Regions from separate parts of the Homo sapiens genome. Here regions 2, 3 and 4 are each linked to region 1. Evidence: promoter capture Hi-C in 16 types of primary human blood cells and fetal thymus (Javierre and others, 2016). All regions are on one chromosome and are shown on one strand. Each heading gives the region's core, a stretch centred on a gene start or on the middle of the fragment in contact. The rest is flanking DNA. Distances are from core to core; before and after follow the strand shown. Region 1 holds the start of RASGRP2 (RAS guanyl releasing protein 2). Region 2 holds the start of RPS6KA4 (ribosomal protein S6 kinase A4). Region 3 holds the start of LOC105369341 (a long non-coding RNA gene). Region 4 has its middle 9.4 kb from the start of LINC02724.

Region 1 (5,269 bases), core at 1,572-4,071:
ACAAGCCAGGGTTCAAACCCACTCCCAGAAACAGCGCCCTGCCCCCTCCTCCAGGCCAGCCTGAAGCCAGAGAGAAGGGAGAAAGGGGAGGGGCTAGAGCCCCAGGGGAAAGACTCACCTGACCAGGTGGCACGTTTTCACCTGCAGGGAATTGGAGTTGTCCTTCCGGGATTGTTGGTAGGTGAAGGAGAGGGTTAAGGAGGCCGCTTAACTCTAGAAAGGGAGGCCTGCGTGGAGGGAGGCTGGGGGCGGGGCCTGGTTCTAGGAGACACGTTCTAGGGATGGGGCTTGCGCTCTGCGGAGATGCTGGGGGTGAGGCTTGAGCTCTGGGAGGGGTTGGAGGTGGGGGTGGAGGACTAGGTGCTGAGGGAGGCTGAAAGCAAAGCCTGGGCTCTGGGAGAGAGAGATGCACGGGGCGCACCCAAGCCTGAAGCAGGGGCAGGCCCCAGACTCTAGGGAGAAGGAGGGCAAGGCCTCGGCTGGGGACAGAGCCTGGGGACAGGACCGAGTCGCTAGGAGCAAGGAGGGGGCAGAGCCTAGGCCCTAGTTGGAGGCTGGGACGACGCCTGAGCTCTGGGATAAGGAGTGGCCTATACTTAGGAGCGAGGCTCATTCTGCACCTGGGCTGGGCAGAGGGGCTGCGCATGGGCTCCGACGGCGGGGGCCTTGGCAAGGCCGGCGAAGGATATATGTGGAGCAGCTTGGCCGCCAGCTGAGAGGAGGGGATGTACCAGGGGTGCATCATGAGGAACATGCGCACCAGCTGCGGGTCCCGCACCTTCCCGGAGTCATCTGACTCCGAAGGGTCAAAGACAGGTGGCTGAGCTGGGTCCGCAGCTACCATGCCTCATCCTCACCCCGCAACCCGCCAGGTATCGGTCCTTCGGGTGCACGCTCGACCCCGCCCACCTCCTGCTTGCCCAGGACTCCGAGAGCAGGAGGCAAATTAGAGAGGAAAGGTGTGGTGGGCGAGAGATAGGCACGCCCTGAGGACTGGAGGAGGGGAGCGCCCGAGCCGCCCATCGTCCGGAGGGGAACCAGCTGGGGCGGAAGGAGCCTGGGTTCCCCGGGGTCAAGAATCCAGAGGTCATTTCCTGAGCGCTTGGGGGGAAGGGGCACCCCTTCACCAGATAAGCCGCCCCCCATTAGCCGGAAACAGCTCCCAGGCCGGAGATAGCGAGTTCCTCCGGATTCCCCGGGAGACAGATAATGCCCCTCAAGTGTCAGAGTCCGGGACCCGGCCCTCCCTTCGCCGCCGCTGGGGAAGGCTAGAGAAGGGAAACCTCATCTGTCTGAAGGGCGTGCATCTCTCTGCCCTGCGTTGCGGAGGAGGCTTTCGTTAAAGAGACTGCACGCTGCGGAGCAGGGTGGGTCCGGGTCAGGGCTGTGCCCTGGACTGTGCCTGGGAGGCAGGGACCCGGGCTCAGACTCGGGGCTAGGCTCAGGCTCCGTGTGCCCTCCCGAGCCACTCACCGAAGGCTTCGATGCACCCGCGGAGCAGCTCCTCCACCGTGCAGCCCTTGTCCAGGTCCAGGGTGCCTGCCATGGCCGCCGGCGCGGGGTGGGCTGGGCCCAGGCTGCGCTCCGGGAGCCTCCCACCGGGCTCGGACCGAACCCCTGTCCCGGGAGAGGCAGAGCGGGAGTCTGCGGAGTCGCGGGCGGGGGAGCGGCCCCGCGGGCAGAAACGGGGCGGGGCGGGCACGCCCCCTGCTGGACAGGGGCGGAGTTGTCCCCCGCGGCCACTCCCGGGGTTAAACGGTCTGGCCCGGGATGGTGCAACCCGCCAGTTGGGAAACGGACCCGCAGAGAGGCTTCCGGCCCACCCTCGGAGTCGCGGGAAGGCCGAGGGGCTTCACGAGGATGGGGACGAACCAAGATCCCAGGACTGGCTGGCGCCCAGCCCCCCGCAGGGCGCCTTCTCCTCGCGCCCTCTCCCCAGAGGCACCTGCAGCACCCCGCAGCTCGGCTCTGCGCCCCTCCCGCTTCCCTCCCTCCACAGCCTCCCTTCCCCCGCAGGGTTATTTTGGGAACCCAGAGCCTGAGGGGACCTCGGAGGAATTTCTCCCTGGTATGGGAGGTGGGGGGAGAGAACCCAGGCGTCCTGCCCGCCTCGCCCCCTCCCGGGAGCCCAGGAAGGCGAGGCGGGGCTGCGGCAGCCCCCAGGGGGCCTGCCCTAGGGGAGGCGGACTGGATGGGAGAGGAACATTCCTGGGGCGGGGGGAGCCCGCTGCGGCCAGGAGGCGTCAGCGGGAAGCCTGAGCCTGGGAACTGAGCGCTCCCAGGCCACCTCCGCAAAGGTCCCAGGGGTCCCGGCTCAGCTTGTCCACAGGCCCTCTTCCTCCCTATCCCCGGCTCCTGACCCTGGCCCCGGCCCCGCACAGGCGAACTGTGAGCGCGCACGGAGCAGGGTGTCCAGAGGGGGGCGCTCGCGCCAAGGGTGGCCGGTGGGTGCATGACACCATTAGCAACTCCGGTCACTGGCGGGGTCATACGCACCCTGGCAGGGGCAAACACTCCACACCCAAGTTATTCGTCGGAGGCCGGGGACCTAAGTGGAGGTGCAGGCGTCCGCACTTACACGCACCGGGCCACAGGCACCGGCCTCCCATCCTCCGTCTCTCACACACAATGGCACCCACACCCTGTGCACACCTGCACGAAGAAACCCTCAGGCACACATACCCAGCTCGTCCACCCCAGAATGCAAACCCGCGGACGAGGTCGCCTCCTGGACGTGCTGTTCACTTGAGCCAGGCCAGCCTTGAGTCCCGCGGCCACACAGGCGCTGACATCCTCACACGTGTGCACACACGCAAGGCAGTGCCTCTCCACGCATGTACACTCCCACACACATGCACACACCCCCATGGGTGCGCACGCCCATTCCGTCGCCCCCCTCCCATTTGCGGTGCAGGGCCCGCCCTGCGGCCCCAGCTCCCTGACTCCCCTCACTCCCAGATTTTGGCAGAGCCTTGCCCCACGGAAAGGTACCCCGGCCCTACACATACTCACTCCCCCAGGCTGGAGGACAGGGGAGCTCCTGTACGGAGTTCTCAGGCGGACTTTTCCTAAGAGCCACCCAGAGCCGTCCCCGCCTGGCTCTACCGCTTCCTCGTGTGACCTTGAGAATCACTTGGCCTCTGGGAGCCTCAATTTTCTCATCTGCCAAATGGGGGTACGCGGGGGAGGGCCCCGCTGGAAGGTGGCTGGGAAAAGCTGGGTGCACCGTGGAGGTCCTCCGCCCTCCGGGGATCCAGCGCGCCTTAGCTCTCGTGGCCGCTGCCCCCTCTCCCAGACCCGGGCCGCAGACTCCCCACCCGCTCGCCGCCCCCAGCCCGCCCGCGCCGCCCTGGGCGGGGGGGGAGTCGCTGGGGGCCGCGCCCTCCTTCGCCTGGCGCCCCGCCCGCGCTCGCCCACTCACTCTTGGGACCTGCCGCAAGGAGCCCGCACCGGCCTGGCCGACCCCACCTCCGTGCGCTCCCGCCCGCCGGCCTCGCTGCGGCTGCGGCTCCCGCCCGCTCTCCACGCCGCGGCCCCGCTCCCCGCCGCCCCGCCCCCGCCCCCGCGCCAGGCTGCCCCCTCCCCCCTCCGCCCCTGCGCGGAGCTCCGCACCGCCGGCTGCGCCACCCCCACCGGGGGCTCCCTCTCGCCCCGCACGCGGCGGTCCCTGCGGCAGCTTAACCCCTCCCCTGCCGCGCCGCCCGGGAGGCCAGGGCCGCGGGCGGGGGGCTGCGCCACTAGCTGCCCCGAGGGCGGGCGACCGGAGGCCCCGCCGCCCGGGACGCGGAGGGGGGACCGAAACGAAGAGCCCCTCCCCCAACCGCGGACGCCCCAGTGCCCCCCGCCCTGCCTGGGTGTCGGGCGGAGGAAGCCGGGAGGGGCAGGAAGCGGACTGCGGTGGGGAAGGGGCGCCCCGCCCAGCCCCCAGCTCGGGTTCCTGTTTTCGAGACAAACCGTTCCCATGGGGCTAACCCGGCCCGGGACCGGGCGTCTTCCTGCAGGCAGCGGGTGGCACAGGCCTAGTGGAGGTCGGGGGCGTGGGGACAGCTGGTCCTTGAGATAGTCTGGGGGATGGGCTAGGACAAGATGGGAATATTTTGGGGAGAGGGACCTGTGGGGAGCGAGGAATGAAATCGTGGCTATCTGGAGACGCGGCCTTGATGTCTGGGAATGGGGGCGGGGGGCCCAGTTCACACAGGAGGAACGGGGCCCCGGAAGCCTGGCTCCCCACAGGGTCGAATGGAAAGGGGCAGCCGCATGTGGCGGTGGGTTCTCCGCAGCTCGGAGACTGGAGACCTGGATGCCTGGCCAACAGGGAGGAACTTGGGAGGGGCAGCCGCAGGCGGTTGGGGTCCCCACTAGCCGGGCCTAGGAGAGCGGGTAACGGTTTCCGACCATTTGGCTTCAGACACACTCACTGTGAAACCACCGACCCCAAACCTCCCTTCCGAGGCGTGCCCCTCCCAGCCTTGGGGCGGGGGATCCAGGACCGCCCCCGCACCTCAGTCTTGGTAATGTAAGACTTAGAAACAGGACCTTTCTGTTCCTCAGTTTCCCCATAATGAGGGCCTAGACTAGGCGGTCTGCGAGTGTTCCCTGCCGTAACACTCCCCCGACTTTGGATCCAGTGTAGCCACCTGCTAAGAGACCCTTAAACGCCGCAGTAGGGCGGGGCTAAGGGCGGAGCCAAGAAGGCGCCGAGCATCCTCTGCTTCCTCCCCCTCCTGGGTCCTGCCCTCGACAGCGCGGATCCTCCGTGGTCCGGGAAGCCTCAGCCCAAGTCCCGGCTCCCAGCCCCGGTGGGCCCCACCCAGGCAGACGCCCCGCCCCCGGCCAGCGAGGCTGGCCGCTGACCTAGTATGGACACGGCACTGGGAAGAGAGGCGTGGAGGGTGACGCCAGGAAAGGGGCTGGAGAGGCCTAGGCCCCGCCCCCACGGGTCGCCCCCTCCACCTCCCATCACCGTCCCGCCGTGGGACGCACCTGCCGAGGGTGGAGGATAAGGGGGTGACTGCGCGGCTGCTGTTGAGCCCGCCAAGAGCTAAAAATATTTCCCAACAAAGAGGAGTAAGGAGGCTCCCAAGGAGAATGAATTTATTAGGGAGTGGGTGCAGTTGGTCAGACCCCATAAATAGGAGGGGACCGGGAGCCCGAGGACGGAAGGGGGCCCGTGTCCTTAGTCACGCTGGACACTGGGACATTGAGAGTGGGGAAAATGAGGGTTCCAGGAGGGGCTTAGAGATCTAACTCCAGTACCCCACCCTCTGCA
Region 2 (5,269 bases), core at 167-2,666, 380 kb before region 1:
GGGATTGGGGTCTAAGATCTGGGCTCAGGGGTGTGGGGCAGTGAAGCCCCTGTTGCCCCGCCCCCACCCTCTCCCAGGGCACTGTCTTCTCTCTGTTCACATCCTCCTCCTACTCATCTCCCCTCCCTCCTTGAGGTTGAGCCCCCTCCCCAGGGAGTTCTCAGCCTGGCGGGGCATCACTTAATGCCAGGGGTTGCCAGGAGAGGTGGGAGGGACGCTGGCTCTCTGACCAGGGCCTCTAGCCTGATGCCTGAGAGGCGGGGCAATTCGGCTGGGGTGCAGGATGTGAGTCAGGGTACCTGGGGCCACCCAGGGGAGGGTGGAGCTGCCCAGGGCTGAGATAAGGCAGCCTGAACTTGGGGGGTGCAGAGCTGGGAGGGACGGTCCGTCCGGCCTCCCAGGTGTGACCTGCAGCAGCTTGAGTTCCTCCTCCTCTCAGCCAGGGCTTCACAGGACAGGGGCGTGGGGTGGACACCCTGGCCTCTCCAGCTGGCAGAGGAGCTGAGAGCCCCTCCCACCGGCCTCAGGGTGTGGGGCCTCATGGCTGTCCCACTCTGCTAGGTGGCCCCATTGGTGGTCAGGAAGGGAAAGGCAGGAAGAAGACGGAGCAGGGGCTCAGGAGGACCAGTCAGCAGGGGCCCTGGGCCTCATGGGGAGAGGGGGCAGCCCCGTGTGGCACTGACATCTCTTCTTGAGGCCTGCTCAGGGCTCTAAGCTGGGTACTGCACCAGGCTAGGAGACAACAGGAGCAGAACACGTGAGGTGCGCATGGCACCTGGTGGGCTCTGCACGGTGACTGGGGGCTGAAGTGCTTCTGCAGGCACCCCCGACAGAAAGCTGGTCAGAAAACTGGCCACTCCTCTCCTTGCCATGGGGTCCCAGGCCGGGCTCCAGCCCCCTCTTGGTGATGAGGCTCCTCCTTGCAAAGGCCAGTCCTCTGGGGAGAGGGGCCCTGCTGGCCACCCCCAGGACGATGGAGTGGGGTGGGCTCCACTGCCTGAGAGTTGGGTGACTTCCAGGATCCAGACCCCCTCTCAGCCTGCCCAGCACCAGGCACCTCGTCCCCCACCTTGGGGCACAGACTCCTAATGTCCTCCAGCCACTGGCTGCAGCCGGCATTCCCGGGCAGATTCCTGGCTTGGGGACTAATGCCCCAGAGGCTCCAGGTTACCCACGGGCTCAGGGATGGCTCCCACGGGGTGTTTCCAGTTCCCGGGAGAGTCGAGTAAGGTCCCGGAGCGCACGGCCCTGAGGCCTGGCCTGGGGGCTCGGGAGACAGGGCGGCCCCAGCCGGCCGCCCACCGGCAGCCCGGCGCTGTCACGTTCCAGCCGCCTGACTCAGGCCGCGCAGGGCGGGGAGCCGGGAGGCGGTGCCGGCGCCCGCCTCGGCCCCGGAGGCGGCACCAGGAAGCGCCCGCCCCGGCCGGAGCCGCCATGTAACCGGCGCCGCCCGGAGCCCGAGCCGCGCGGGCCCCAGCGACCCGCCCGCCATGGGGGACGAGGACGACGATGAGAGCTGCGCCGTGGAGCTGCGGATCACAGAAGGTGGGTGTGGGGCCTGACTGCGGCTGCCCGGGGCAGGCCGGGACGGGTCATGGACCGGCTGGGCTCATTCGCCCCCTGTGCCCACAGCCAACCTGACCGGGCACGAGGAGAAGGTGAGCGTGGAGAACTTCGAGCTGCTCAAGGTGCTGGGCACGGGAGGTGAGGACCCCCATCCACCGGGCAGGCGTCCCAGGCGCGGTGCCCCTGACCTCCTGCCTGCTCACTCTTGGGCCTGGGCCAGGCCACTGAGCAGGCCCCCCACCCTTTCCCGGCACAGCCTGCCTTGCCTGCCCCGCCCTGCCTCGCCAGAGTTTGCATGCCCACTTCCAGGGCACTCCACATTGACATCACTCCTCCCTCCACGGTCCTGTGCGTGCATACCCCCCTGGATTTGCCAACACCCTGGGGAGGGGGACTGGCGCCCCTCTCAAGTGATTTGCATAGCTCCTCCCTTTCTTCCAATATGGGATCCCCCTCCCACATTTTGCAAATGCCCCAGCGCTGGTTTGCGCATCCCTTCCCCAGCCAGGTGCACACCTCTGCCTCCCTTCCTTGCACTGGCATCTTTTCACATCCATCTGATCTCTCGCAGGTTTGCATATGCCCCGCCCCCATGCCTCGCAGCAGGCCCCCTGGAGATGCATGCTCCCCAGCCTGGTTTGCACATCCTTTCCCTGGTTTTGCTGGGCACCCTCCCGGGGTGTGCACACCCTTTCCTTAGAAGGCTCTGCCAGCTTTTTGCACACCTGCCTGTTGCCCCAGCTCCTTCGCCTCATTTGCACACCCTCCTGGGTTGGCATCGCCCCCACCCCCCAAGCCTGCACCAATCTCCCGCTCACAGCCCACCCTCCACCCACTCGCTGCTCCCACAGCCTACGGCAAGGTGTTCCTGGTGCGGAAGGCGGGCGGGCACGACGCGGGGAAGCTGTACGCCATGAAGGTGCTGCGCAAGGCGGCGCTGGTGCAGCGCGCCAAGACGCAAGAGCACACGCGCACCGAGCGCTCGGTGCTGGAGCTGGTGCGCCAGGCGCCCTTCCTGGTCACGCTGCACTACGCTTTCCAGACGGATGCCAAGCTGCACCTCATCCTGGGTGAGCGCACACCACATCCCAACGGGGTTGGGGTGGCTGGGGGCAGGCGAGGCCACCTGACGGGGCTGCTTCCTGACTTCCACTGCACCTCCCAGACTATGTGAGCGGCGGGGAGATGTTCACCCACCTCTACCAGCGCCAGTACTTCAAGGAGGCTGAGGTGCGCGTGTATGGGGGTGAGATCGTGCTGGCCCTGGAACACCTGCACAAGGTGGGTGAAGACCTGGCCGCAGGCTGTTGCTATGGAAACTGGGTCTGTGCCTTGGAAGGAATCTGCACGCAGGGCAGCCTCAGGCTTCCCCCTGGGCTTCCTGGGGGGCCAGTGGTGAGCTGGGTGGGAATTGGAGCTGCTTCCCCTGGACCCCTTGCAGGAAGCCTCAACGTTGCCTGGTGGGGTCCCCTCCCCTGGCACCTCCTCGAAGGGGCTTTCCTCTTTCAGGGAACTCGGGGCTGCGTTCACAGAACTTCCTCAAATGGAAACCTCACGGCCTGGCTCCTAAGGCCTCCTTGAAATGGAGCTCTTCACACAGACTTTCCTCTCTCTGGGACCTTGGGGCCTGATCCACGGGGCCCTCCTTCTTTGTTTTATATCTTAAATGGCCTTTCTTATTCAGTGGCTCTGCCCTGGAGACCCCCTCTACAGGCAGATGACTTTCTCTGGGGGGTCTCCTTATCCTGAGCAGGGCCAGGAGCTGGAGGAGCTGGGGAGGGTTTCGGGGAGGAAGCCTCAGCACCCCTCTTGCTCCTACCAGCTCGGCATCATTTACCGAGACCTGAAACTGGAGAATGTGCTGCTGGACTCCGAGGGCCACATTGTCCTCACGGACTTCGGGCTGAGCAAGGAGTTCCTGACGGAGGAGGTGAGTGGAGGCCACCTCTGCCTGCAGTGCCCCATTCAATCCTTCTCCTTCCTGCCTCTTCCTGCTCTGGGCCTGCATTCTGGGGCTGCAGAAGTGAATAGCTCCAAGAAGTTTCCACAGCTCAGCTCTCCAACCTCACAAGTTGAGCGAGTCTTACTCTGGGCCTTGTGGGGCACTGGGGCACAGGAGAGGTTTCGACATCTAAGCAGGACCTCTTGCCCTCCCAGAAAGAGCGGACCTTCTCCTTCTGTGGCACCATCGAGTACATGGCCCCCGAAATCATCCGTAGCAAGACGGGGCATGGCAAGGTAGGTTGGCAGGGAAGTGGGGCTGGGGGAGGTGGAAAGGTGGGGTGTGAGGCAGGGGAGATGCAGGCCCTCACCCCGGCTCCACCCGGCAGGCTGTGGACTGGTGGAGCCTGGGCATCTTGCTCTTCGAGCTGCTGACGGGGGCCTCGCCCTTCACCCTGGAGGGCGAGAGGAACACGCAGGCTGAGGTGTCTCGGTGAGTAGGGCTGGACGTGGAGGGCGGCCAGAGGGCTGCAGGGCCTGCCTGGGCAGGGCTGTGGGTGGGGGGCTTGCTGCCCCTGACACCCCCCCAATCCTCCCAGACGGATCCTGAAGTGCTCCCCTCCCTTCCCCCCTCGGATCGGGCCCGTGGCGCAGGACCTGCTGCAGCGGCTGCTTTGTAAGGATCCTAAGAAGCGATTGGGCGCGGGGCCCCAGGGGGCACAAGAAGTCCGGAACCATCCCTTCTTCCAGGTGAGGCTGACTCAGGGCCCCATACCTCCTGGTGCATACCCAGGTGGGGCTGCTGTTCCAGGTTGAGGTTGTGCCTGGCCAGTTTCACTTTATTTGGAAATCCCCCCAGAGAAAGAAAGCAAGTGTGTGTCAGCTAGGTTTCTCTTCACATCCATCCCCACTGAAACTTGGCAGATGTGTTCCTGAAAGAAAGGATTCTAGGTTCATTGGCTGTTGGGGCTGTCAGGGATTTGAGAATGGATTGGTCGGTCCTTTCACTGGACAGACCCAGAGAAGGCAGGTGACCTGCCCCCGACGGCACAGTAAATGGTGCCGAGTTGGGAATAGACCTTGGGTCTAGATAGATCTCCTGCTGGTCCAAATCAGTACGGAAACCCACACTTATGGCTTTTAGCACCCACCCAGGCATTTTGTTCTTTGTCCCCGTCCCTGTACAGTCTGTGTGCCTGTCATTCAGATGGACGGTTGATCAGCACACATGGGTGTTTGCTCACTTGTTAGGAGCACACACATGTTAGAGTGCAGTGCAGAGTGAATCTGGCCATGCGAGAATGCACTGACTCAGGGGCTGGGCCTGGCCAGCGTCATCGCCCAGCAGGACTTTGTAACAGTCAATACCTACTGTGTGTCGGCCCTTTGCGGACATGAACTCATTTCACCCTCACAACTACCTGATTCTTATTTTTTAGACGGAGTTTCACTTTGTCTTCTGGGCTGGAGTGCAGTGGCACGATCTCGGCTCAGTGCAACCTCCACCTCAGGGGTTCAAGCGATTTTCCTGCCTCAGCCTCCCAAGTAGCTGGGATTACAGGCACAGGCCACCACGACTGGCTAATTTTTATATTTTTAGTAGAAACGGGGTTTCACCATGTTGGCCGGGCTGGTCTTGAACTCCTGACCTCAAGTGATCCACCTGCCTCATCCTCCCAAAGTGTTGGGATTACAGGTGTGAGCCACCACGCCCTGCCACAACCACCTTGATTTTTGTCCCCATCTTTACAGATGAGGAAGC
Region 3 (5,269 bases), core at 1,865-4,364, 320 kb before region 1:
CAACAATTGGTTCTGAGAAATTGGATATCTACATGCAAAATAATGAAGTTGAACCCTTACCTTATACCATAGACAAAAATTAACTTAAAATGGACCAAAGACCTAAACATAGAGCTAAAACTATAAAACTCTTAGAAGAAAACATAGGGGAAAAGCTGCATGACATTGGATTTTGCAATGACGTCTTGGTTTTGATACCAAAAGCACAGGCAACAAAAGAAAAAAAATAGATAAATGGAACTTTGTTAATATTAAATATTTTGTGCATCAACAGACACTTTTTTTTTTTTGAGACAGGGTCCTGCTCTGTTACCCAGGCTGGAGTGCAGTGGTGTGATCTTGGCTCACTGCAACCTCCAGCTCCCAGGTTAAAGTGATTCTCTTGCCTCAGCCTCCTGAGTAGCACCACCACACCCGAGTAACTTTTGTATTTTTAGTAGAGACGGGATTTTGCCATGTTGGCCAGGCTGGTCTTGAACTCCTGACCTCAGGTGATCCACCCGCCTCAGCCTCCCAAAGTGCTAGGATTACAGGTGTGAGCCAATGCGCCCAGCCTGATAGGGAGTTAATATCCAAAATGTATAAGGAACTCCTACAACTCAACAATGAAAAACAAATGAATTAAAGAATGGGCAAAGGACTTGAATAGACATTTCTCCAAAGAAAAACATGAAAGCACATGAAAAGATGCCCAGCATCGCTAATCATTAGGACACAAATGAAAACCACAGCCAGATACCACTTCACACCCAGTCAGATGCCTATAATAAAAAAAAAAAACAGCACATGTTGGCGTGGATGTGGAGACTTTGGTAACTGTGTGCCCTTCAGGGGAAAGTGTAAAATGATGAATTTGCTTTGGAAAATGGTATAGTGGTTCCTCAAATAATTAAACATAGAACTACCATATAATCCAGTAATTCCATTTCTGAGTATATACCTAAAACAATGGAAAGCAAGACGTTGAAGAGATTTGTACACCCATGTTCCTAGCAGCATTCTTCACAATAGGCAAGAGGTGGAAACAGTGCAGTTGTCCATTGACAGATGTATTAGTCAGTTTTCATGCTGCTGATAAACACATGCCTTAGATTGGTTAACTTTTTTTTTTTTTTTTTTTTTTTTTGAGATGGAATTTTGCTCTTGTTGCCCAGGCTGGAGTACAACAGCTCAATCTCGGCTCACTGCAACCTCTGCCTCCCGGGTTCAAGCAATTCTCCTGCCTCAGCCTCCTGAGTAGCTGGGATTACAGGTGCCCGCCACCACGCCCAGCTAATTAAGACTGGTTAACTTATAAAGGAAAGAAGTTTAATTGACTCACAGTTCCACATGGCTGGGGAGGCCTCACAATCATGGTGGAAGGCAAGGAGGAGCAAAGTCATGTCTTATGTGGCGGCAAGGAAGAGAGAGAAATGAGAACAAAGCAAAAGGGGTTTCCCCTTATAAAACCATCAGATCTCATGAGACTTATTCAATACCACGAGAACAGCACAGAGGAAACCGCCCCCATGATTCAACTATTTCCTCACTGAGTCCCTCCCGCAAGTGGGAATTATGGGAGCTACAATTCACGATGAGATTTGGGTGGGGACACAGCCAAACCATATCAACAGATGAATGGCTAAGCAAAATGTGGCCTATCCATACAGTGGAATATTGCTCTGCCTTAAAAAGGAAGGAAATTCTGACACATGCTACGCGTGGATAGACATTCAGGATCTCGTGCTAAGTGCAACGAGCCAGTTATGAAAGGACAGATACTGTAGGATTCCACTTATAGGAGGCACCTGGAGTGAGATGCATAGAGTCAGAGAGTGGAATGGTGGGTGCCAGGGGCTGGGGGAGGGGCAAATGGGGGGTTAGTGTGGAGTTCTGGTTGGGAAGATGAAAAAGTTCTGGAGCTGAATGGTGGGGATGGTCACACAACAATGCACTTAATGTCACTGGACTGTATACTTAAGAATGGCTAAAATGATAAATTTTACGATATACATATTTCACCACAATAAAAGTTAAAAAGAATAATTTAGATAAACCCTGGGAAGGTGTTCATCAAGGTTTCCAAAATGCCAGGTGGTCCTGGTCTTAGTCAGGTGTCTGGATGGAGAATGCTGGTGCCCCAACTCCTCCTCCTGTCTGTGCCCACACGCAGTGCTGGGCCGGACACTTGTCTGTCCTGAGGGGAATGTGCAGCCTCTGGGCCTCCCTGGAGAGAACAGGTGAAGGAATGCCTGGGGCTCTCTCTGTGCCCTCCTCGGGAGGAAACGGGACCCAGGCGATCTTGGACAGAAGCAGGGTCCCGAGCAGGGGATCACTAGCTGCTTCCGTCCGTCTCTCTTCGGCCCTCCTGTCTGCCAGCTGCACCTCTGCTCTCTTCCAAGGGGCAGCCCCCACCAGGGGCAGTTGTCCAGCTCTTGTGCCTGGGCCGGCACTGGCAAGTTCATTTCCATGGGCATAAGCAGTCTCCATTCTGGCTTGGCAGCAATAAACCTGGCACTGGATGTTGTCCTGGTCCATACATATGTGCCAATCGGTCCAGACTCCTAGAGCTCAACAAATGGTCCTGTGAGAGCCTGGCGCTGTGTGAGCCCGGGAAGGCAGTGCAGTGCAGTGGCCAGGTCATGTCACCCAGGCTAGGGCTTGGCCTTCTGGGGAGCACAGCGAGGGATGGCCTGCCCTAAGGAAGGCCCTCTCTGAGGTGGGGATGGTTTTCCAGGGTTCCCTGGGCTCCCAGGTGCTCCCTCCTCCCCTGTACCCCACTCTTCCATACCCCGGGGCTCATCCCTTCTCCACTTGGGTCCTTGTTCCACTGAAAATCTCCCCCTACCCTCCCATCTCATGGTTTTCTTCCTCCCCGCTGGCTCTGCCTTCCCTTCAACCAGCACCAATGCCAAAATCAGCACCAGGAGCTGCCATTCATATCGTCTCTACCATATGCCCATTTGAATCCTTATTGACAAGCTTGTGACCTTTGTCAAATTAGTGACCTATCTGAGCCTCAGTTTCCTTTCCTGTAAAATGGGCACATTAATACCTATTTTACAGATGGTTGTGAGATGGGTCGTGCCTGACACCATTTGGCGCTCAGCCAACTCTTGTTTGTTTCGTCGATTCTGCTGGGTTGCCTGGCATTTTGATTTATCTTTAATTCATACCTTTGAATCTGCTGTAAACTTGGCAGCCACATCACCAAGCTCGTTAGATTGCAGGTTGGGAAGCCTAATTAGGTTCTAAGGAGGTTAGAAATCTGTCCTCAGGGACAAGTTCTCAAGCTTTAGAATGTGGACTCATGACGTCATTTTGGTCCCTGGAGGCATTCTTCTCTAGCTGTATGTGGGAAGCTCTGTGTTCCAGGCTGTGAGGCTGCCAGGCAACAAAGTTTCCCAAGTCTCAAGGAGCCATGTTGTGAGTGTTTGACAGCCAGGTCTTGGAAAGGAAGGCCAACATGCCCTGGGCTGATCAGACTCCATCATGTTGACTCCTGGGAGGCACATTTTTGAGAAACAATTAGGAACCAGGAAGCATTCTGAGGAGGAAAGCCAGGATAAAGAAGACTCAGATAAAAAAGTCATCCCACCAGGTCTGGATGCAGTGTGACTGTATCAGTCAGCTTTTGCTGGGTTATGCCAAGTAACAAACAGGTACCAAACTCAGTGGCTTATAATAATTATAATAAAAAGGGTTGTTCTTATTAATGTTGCACATTGCCTGCAGTAGGTGTGAGCCTGTTCTATGTTTTTTTCATTCTAGGATTCAGGCTGAAAGATCAGCTATGAAACTGCTGGTTTTGAGGCACAGGAAAAAGAGTGATGGCAGAACTGAGAAATGACTTTAAAGCCTCTGCTCAGAAGTGGCTTATATCCCTCTGTTCACATTTTATTGGCCACAGAGAATCACATGATCAAATATGTCTTCAGACTTGATGGGCTTAGGGAGATACCATGCTCCCACAGGGAGGGGTGGTAACTATTTGGCCAGCACAGAGTAGATACCAACAGTTATTAAACTGTTTGTTGAATGAATGAATAGATGAATTCTCTGATCCTGGAAGGATTTAAATAAAGAATGGATGACCATTTGTATTACCTATCTATTGCTGCATAACAAATTATTAAAAAACAGTCTGGGTGTGGTGGCTCTCACCTGTAATCCCAGCACTTTGGGAGACTGAGGTGGGAGGATGGCTTGAGCTCAGGAGTTTGAGATGAGCCTGGGCAATGGAGCAAGACCTCATCTCTATTAAAAAAGTTTATTAAAAAACTTAGTGGCTTAAAGCAACAATAAACATTTATTATCTCACATAGTGTCTGTGGGGCAGTAATTCTGGAATGGTTTACTTAGCAGGATGGCTCAGATTTGAGGTTTCTCATGAGATTGTAGCCAAGTTATTGATCAGAGCTGCAGCCATTTATAGGCTCCACTGCCAAAAGGCTCTGATTCCAGGATGAGTCACTGACATAGACGGGGAATTGGGACTGGCTGTTAGCAGGAGGCCTCACTTCCTCACCATGTGGCTTATCCACAGGGCTGCTTGAGTGTCCTCACAATATGGTGGCTGAATTCCTCCAGAGCAAGTAATCCTGGAAAGAACAAGACAGAAGCCACAATGTCTTTAAAGCTTCAGAAGGCACACACTATCATTTCTACAATATCCTACTGGCTACACAGGTCTTCCCTATTCGATGTGGGAAGGGACTAAATAAAGGTGTAAATAGCAGGAGGGGATATCATATGGGGCCATGTAGGAGGCAGTCTATCATAGCTCACCCTCTGGCCCCCAATAAATTATATCCTTTCCACATGTAAATACTCTTACCTCCTCCCACAGCCTCCAAAATTCTCATCTTATTAAAGCTCAAAGTCCAGAATCTCATCATCTAAATCAGGTTCAGATGAGGCTTCTAGGGTAAGGCTCCTCAAGTACAGCTCTTGAGAATAGTTTTGCTTGATCTGAAGACATGTGAACTAAAGAGGCAGTTATCTGTATCTCTGTATCTCTGTACCCTGCAACATACAACAGTGTGAGAAGCATAAGATAACCATTATAGACATTCCCAATTCGAGAAGAGAGGCACATAGAGCTGTTTGTGGTGGTGTGTGCCTGTAGACCCAGCTACTCGAGAGGCAGAGGCAGGAGGACCACTTAAGTCCAGGAGTTCAAGGCCAGCCTGGGCAACATAGTGAGGCCCTGTTTAGAAAAAAAATAAAAGGAGGCACACAGGAGTCACTAGCACATAGCAATTCTTAAATCTAGCAGACCACACATTGG
Region 4 (5,269 bases), core at 1,167-3,666, 290 kb before region 1:
GCACAAGTGGCACATCAGGGATTGGGCTCCCAAAGGTCCCCAAGGCAGGAGCTACGTGGTCCAGACCCCCTGCCTCTGGCCATGCGGCACCAAGGCCTCCCCTCAGCTCACATCCTGGGGGGTTTTCCTGTGACCAGCGGAGATAGGCTGCAGTCTCACCCCAGCGGACGTGTTCCTGCGAGCTGAACGCGTGTGGCTGCTGCACCACAGCCCTCCCAGGGAGGCCCTCAAAGACAGCGGCAGGCCGTCGGCAGTGCACCTGGTGTGTGCACTTGTGCAAAGAGAGAAGTGGCTTGAGGAAAGAATGTACATGGGCTTGTGGACAGTGGACAGTGGCTTAGCTGGTGGGTCAGGGATCTAGAAGGAGCAAGACTGGAAGTTTAGGCCGGGCTCGGTGGCTGACGCCTGTCATCCCAGCACTTTGGGAGGCCGAGGTGGGCTGATCACTGAGGTCAGGAGTTCAAGACCAGCATGGCCAACGTGGTGAAACCCTGTCTTTACTAAAAATACAAAAATTAGCCAGGCATGGTGACGCATTCCTGTAATCTCAGCTACTCGGGAGGCTGAGGCAGGAGAATTGCTTGAACCTGAGAGGTGGAGGTTGCAGTGAGCCGAGATTGTGCTACTGCACTCCAGGCTGGGCCACAGAGCGAGACTCCATCTCAAAACAAAAACAAAAAGATTGGAAGTTCAGGAACAAGAAGGGCTGGGGGAAAGGCATGTGTGTAGGCTGGTAGGACAGGCATGAAGAGTGAAAATCTTGATCTCAGATTAACATCCGAGAGTATCCCGTGCGGAAGAGACACTGAACAACCAAATGGACAGGACGACCCAGTTGGCCTTCATCCTTGGCTGCCATAGGGCTTGGGCAATGGGCTCACGAGTGGAACTGTCATGGCGGCAGAGACGGCGGCTACTCCTGGGCCCAAGAGCACGTGCCTCTACTTATCGAGGCTGACACGGTTACTGCCACCTCTGCGTGTCTGATCCGTCAGCAACTGAGACCAACGCTGAGCTCCCAGTACTGTCCCATTCCCTTGAAATGACTGGCCAGCCACTTAGTAGCAAACTGATTTCACAGGACCCCTTCCACCCTGGAAAGGGCAGAGATTCACTCAGTTCCATCAGCCCGATTCCAGGAATGGGCTTGCAGTTCCTACTTTTGGGGTCTCTGCCAACATCACTCTCTGAGGGCTCGCTCTCTAAGTGGCTGATTCTCCTACACAGGATTCTGAATGACATCACCTAAGGCCAGGGGATTCACTCTGTGGGGAAGCAGGTGCGGCAGTGGGCACGTGACCGTGGGATCCGCCAGCCCTACTGCAGATCACGTCTTCTGGAATGCCAGCCTGGGCAGCCGCAGAATGGCCTCTGGGATCACAGCTTTGAGGTGATACCAGGTCACTATCCCTCAGGGTGTGATTGCTCCTTAAACTAAGCAATTATAAGGCACTGTGTTCACTCCAGGCAGCATAAGGGTTAGGAGTGGCCCTATTCGCCATTTCCCCTGTGACCCACATTGAGGAATCTGTGCCTCCTATCCCCACGCCATTAGGCTTTGTCCATCAAGAAGTCCTGGTCCCTGAGGGAACATGGCTTCCATAGGGGATATGGTGAGGGTCCCACCAAGCTTGAAGCTCTGGTTGCTGCCTGGTGCCTTTGGGCTTCTGTGCTAGTGGCCCAGCAGGTATGGAATGAACGTTCTACACAGCACGGGCCAGGGATCCCGATCAGCAGAGGGAGGAATGCAGCTATAGGATGGGGCCTATATGTAAATTGGCACATACAGCAACCATGGCGTGATCAGGCCATGGCAACCAGGGCCTCAGACCCCTCAGGGATGAGAGTCTGGGTCGCCCCACCAGGCAAGGCCCCAGCCCAGCAGAGAGTAAGGGAGGAGTCAAGGGGGCCGATGGCATGGATCAGTTAAGGCCTTGGGGTCAGTGGCAGCAATGGGGTCCCTAGTCCTTCGCAAGAGCCTGCCTTGTGGCGGTTTCCCCAGGGAGGGTTTCTGACCGTCCTGGAGAAGCTGGGCCTGCACAGAGTGGACTCTATGCGAGAAGCAAACAGGTCTGAATGGTGCAAAGGGTGGGCTGTAGTGGACAGTCTGGTGCCTGGCCCAGACCCCTTCACCTGGCCAGGGCACATGTCCGTCCATCAGCAGCTGCAAGAGGGACTGCTAGTGGCAGGGAGTTTCCCGTCTTCTCCACACTTGACCTCAGCCAATGGAGCTGCTCTTCCTGCGGTGTAAAGTCCCCTTCTCACTGCAGTGACAGGCCACAGCCAGTGGCTGAGGAATCAAGGGGACAAAAGACCAGCTCCATTGCTTCAAGCTGGGACAGCCCTGCAGTGGGGTTTACTCTTTAGAGCCTCCTCGGATCAGAACCTGAGACTCAACTTGAGGGCACGTGCCTGCCTGGCCTGCACCCCTCCCTCATCTGCTTCCCTCACTTCCTGAGAGCTTCTCCTGCAGAGCGGTCCCTGGTCAATGACCAGAACAGGAAGATCCAGAGACAGAGCCCATTGATGGAGCCTGGGCGGAGCCAGTGGGGAATAGGGAGTGATGCTGAATAGGTATGAGGTTTTCTTTCAGGCAAGGAAAATGTTTTGGAACTTGATAGAGGTGGTGGCTTTAAAACATCGTGAGGGTACTAAATGGCACAGAAACAGTACACTTTAAAATGGTTAATTTTATGTAACACGAATTTCACCCCAATTTAAAGAAATAGATATAAGAAAAAAAAGGACCTCCCCCTTCGTCCCCGGCAGCCACTGCCAGCTTCTTTCTTGCGGTGGGCTGAGCCTCAGCCTTTAGTGAGATGGAGAGTTGGATTCTCACCTGGTCTTGGGTGTCATAATTACTGAGCCAAGGCTGTTCTTGGATCTAGAAGTGAGGACATGACTTACATTGCCTGGGACCATGTGCCTGCCTGAGATTTATCTCAAGCGGGGGTGGGAGAAAGGAGCCCCACAGACTGAGGACAAAGCAATATCACCCTGTCCTGCACCTTGCCTGTCCTGTTCTTCCTCAGGACTGGCCACGCTGAGGTGTCACTTTTCTTCCTAAAATCCTCTGCAGCGTTGGAGACAGCATCCCCAACCCCCCAAAAGAAAGTAAACATAATGCTTACTTTCTTTCTTGTGAATACTAATCCTGGCTAAATTATTCACTTCTTTTTAAACCCCTATTTTTTTTTTTAAACAAAGCTTTTCTTTATTAACTGAGAAGGATTTACCCCTCAGAATCCAGGCATCTCTCTCAGCCCCATGGAGAAGGGGGAGACGGGATCGAATGTGTTGGGAGCTGAGCAGTAAGAAGGGAATCTCAGGAAATCCCACTGGTGCTCAGACATGGGATCACATCACCCTCTCAAAGAGGCTCCCCTGGGCTCTCTGTCCCGCCCCGCCCCGCACCCCCACCCCCTTTCCATTTCCTGTATTTTCTCTGTAACACGATGGTTCTGGGATGACCTCACTTGCTGACTTTTCTTCCACTGGAAGTCGGCCCCATGAGCGCAGGGACCTCATTTTTCTTGCTTGCCAGAGCATCTGCCTCACCCCAGAACCTCATCTGCCACACCGAGGTGCGCAGGAAGTGTTCACTGCACAACTGCACAGTGCTTTCTAGGTTAATACATGTTTATCCATTCCTTGCCTTTAAAAAAAATTGTGGTAAAATGTATATAACATAAAATTGACCATGTTAACCATTTATAAATGCATAGTTCTGTGGTATTAAGTACATTCACATTGCTGTGCAACCATCCTCAGCATCCATCCATCTCCAGCCCTTTTTCATCTTCCCAGATTGAAGCTCTGTGCCTGTTAAATACTGACCGCCCGTCCCCGACCCCAGCCCTGGGAAACTCTCTTCTATTCTCTGACTCCCTGAATCTGACTGCTCCAGGTACCTCCTATAAGTGGAGTCATACAGTACTTGCCCTTTTGTGACTGGCTTCTTTCACTTAGCCCTAATGTTTTCAGGTTCAACCATGTTGCAGCATATGTCAGAATTCCCTCCCTTTTTAGGGCTAAATAATATTCCACTGTCTGTGTAGACCACATTTCACCACTTGCCTTTTAATGGCCGAGTAGTATACCTTCATTTATTTATTTTTTGTTATTTTATTTTATTTTATTTTATTTTTTTGAGACAGGGTTTCGTTCTGTTGCCCAGGCCGGAGTGCAGTGGCACAATTACACCTCACTGCAGCCTCAACCTCCCTGGGTCAGGTGATCCTCTCACCTCAGCCTTTTGAGTAGCTGGGACTACAGGTAAGCGCCACCACACCTAGATAATTTTTGTATTATTTTGTAGAGACGGGGTTTCACCGTGTTGCCCAAGCTGATCTTGAACTCCTGAGCTCAAGCGATCTGCTCACCTCAGCCTCCCAAAGTGCTGGGATTACAGGCATGAGCCACTGTGCTCGGCCTACCTTCATTTAAGTTAAAATTCTTTACAGAGAGTCATTTAGGTTTCTTTTTTTATTTTTTTATTTAGTAACAAATTAGAAAAGCATACCCTTTAATTTTTTTATACACTCATGCTATTATTTCTGTAGGGGACATTTCTAAAAGTGAGACGGCTGAGTCATAGGTTGTAAATAAGCACTTCAAAGGTTTTTGAATATTGTCAAATGGTTCTTCCAAAAGGTTACACCAATTCCTGTTGACAGCAAAAGAGTTTGAGTATGTTCTTCCCCCAACGCTTTTTCCATCTTTCAAAATTCTGCCCAACTGGCAGATAAAACATGATTATCTCATTGTTTTAATTTGCTTTTCCTTAAACATCATGGAGACAGAACCTGTATTTTTTGTTTCTTGGTCATTTATGTATTTCTATTTTGGGGATTTTCTATTTCTGTCCTTTGTCCATTTTCCCATTTTCGTCTTATTTTCATTCTCCCTAGGATGTTCCTACATTTTCTGGTCACGATCTTTTGCTACAGATATCTATTCTGAATCGGTGGTTTGTTGTTTTCACTTTGTTTATGGTGTCTTGTGTTGAACAGAAACACCCCATTCTAACATAGTCACATTTATCAATCTTTTCTTTTATGATGTGCTTTTCACATCGCATTTAAGAAATCCTTCCCCTGTGCAGAGATCAAAATTAGGTTTCTCTTGTACTTTCTACTTATAAATGTTTTACAATTTTGCTTTTCATCTTTGGAAACTTTATGGACCTTGGTTTTGGCCCAGTGTTATCTATGGTGGGTTTCCCCAGGGGTTGATCCTGAGACAAGGATTTGGGTGGAAGAGGGGAAGG

What was found. The method cuts DNA at HindIII sites, captures the fragments that hold promoters and counts their contacts. A CHiCAGO score of 5 or more calls a contact.
Region 2: a contact is called between the fragment with the promoter of RPS6KA4 here and the fragment with the promoter of RASGRP2 in region 1, in 1 of 17 cell types (M0 macrophages). The highest score is 6.9, in M0 macrophages.
Region 3: a fragment that was not itself captured here is called in contact with the fragment with the promoter of RASGRP2 in region 1 in 4 of 17 cell types (M2 macrophages, M1 macrophages, endothelial precursors and 1 more); the score reaches 9.7 in M2 macrophages.
Region 4: a contact is called between a fragment that was not itself captured here and the fragment with the promoter of RASGRP2 in region 1, in 2 of 17 cell types (M0 macrophages and endothelial precursors). The highest score is 6.5, in M0 macrophages.

What each region holds. Positions count from the first base shown.
Region 1 is chr11:64,741,321-64,746,589 of GRCh38, forward strand. RASGRP2 (RAS guanyl releasing protein 2) reads right to left here and starts at 2,822. Exons shown (of 17, transcript NM_001098671.2): 1 at 2,683-2,822; 2 at 1,474-1,617; 3 at 690-792; 4 at 119-181. The coding sequence starts at 1,546. PYGM (glycogen phosphorylase, muscle associated) reads right to left here. Exons shown (of 20, transcript NM_005609.4): 20 at 5,078-5,269. RefSeq lists silencers at 1,489-1,818, 2,129-2,178, 2,339-2,388, 3,379-3,488, 3,739-3,938 and 1 more. The HindIII fragment of the contact is 16,622 bases long and covers 1-5,269 here.
Region 2 is chr11:64,357,746-64,363,014 of GRCh38, forward strand. It overlaps RPS6KA4 (ribosomal protein S6 kinase A4), which reads left to right and starts at 1,417. Exons shown (of 17, transcript NM_003942.3): 1 at 1,417-1,545; 2 at 1,633-1,704; 3 at 2,418-2,636; 4 at 2,732-2,847; 5 at 3,389-3,496; 6 at 3,724-3,804; 7 at 3,897-4,000; 8 at 4,107-4,257. The coding sequence starts at 1,491. RefSeq lists a silencer at 1,203-1,692 and enhancers at 1,442-1,969, 2,703-2,812. The HindIII fragment of the contact is 11,991 bases long and covers 1-5,269 here.
Region 3 is chr11:64,416,982-64,422,250 of GRCh38, forward strand. LOC105369341 (a long non-coding RNA gene) reads right to left here and starts at 3,234. Exons shown (of 4, transcript XR_001748069.2): 1 at 3,156-3,234; 2 at 1,322-1,384. LOC124902689 (a long non-coding RNA gene) reads left to right here and starts at 1,155. Exons shown (of 2, transcript XR_007062720.1): 1 at 1,155-3,641; 2 at 3,751-4,089. The HindIII fragment of the contact is 311 bases long and covers 2,960-3,270 here.
Region 4 is chr11:64,455,797-64,461,065 of GRCh38, forward strand. No RefSeq gene overlaps it. Among named protein-coding and RNA genes, the nearest start is that of LINC02724, 9.4 kb to the left of the region's middle. The HindIII fragment of the contact is 1,577 bases long and covers 1,629-3,205 here.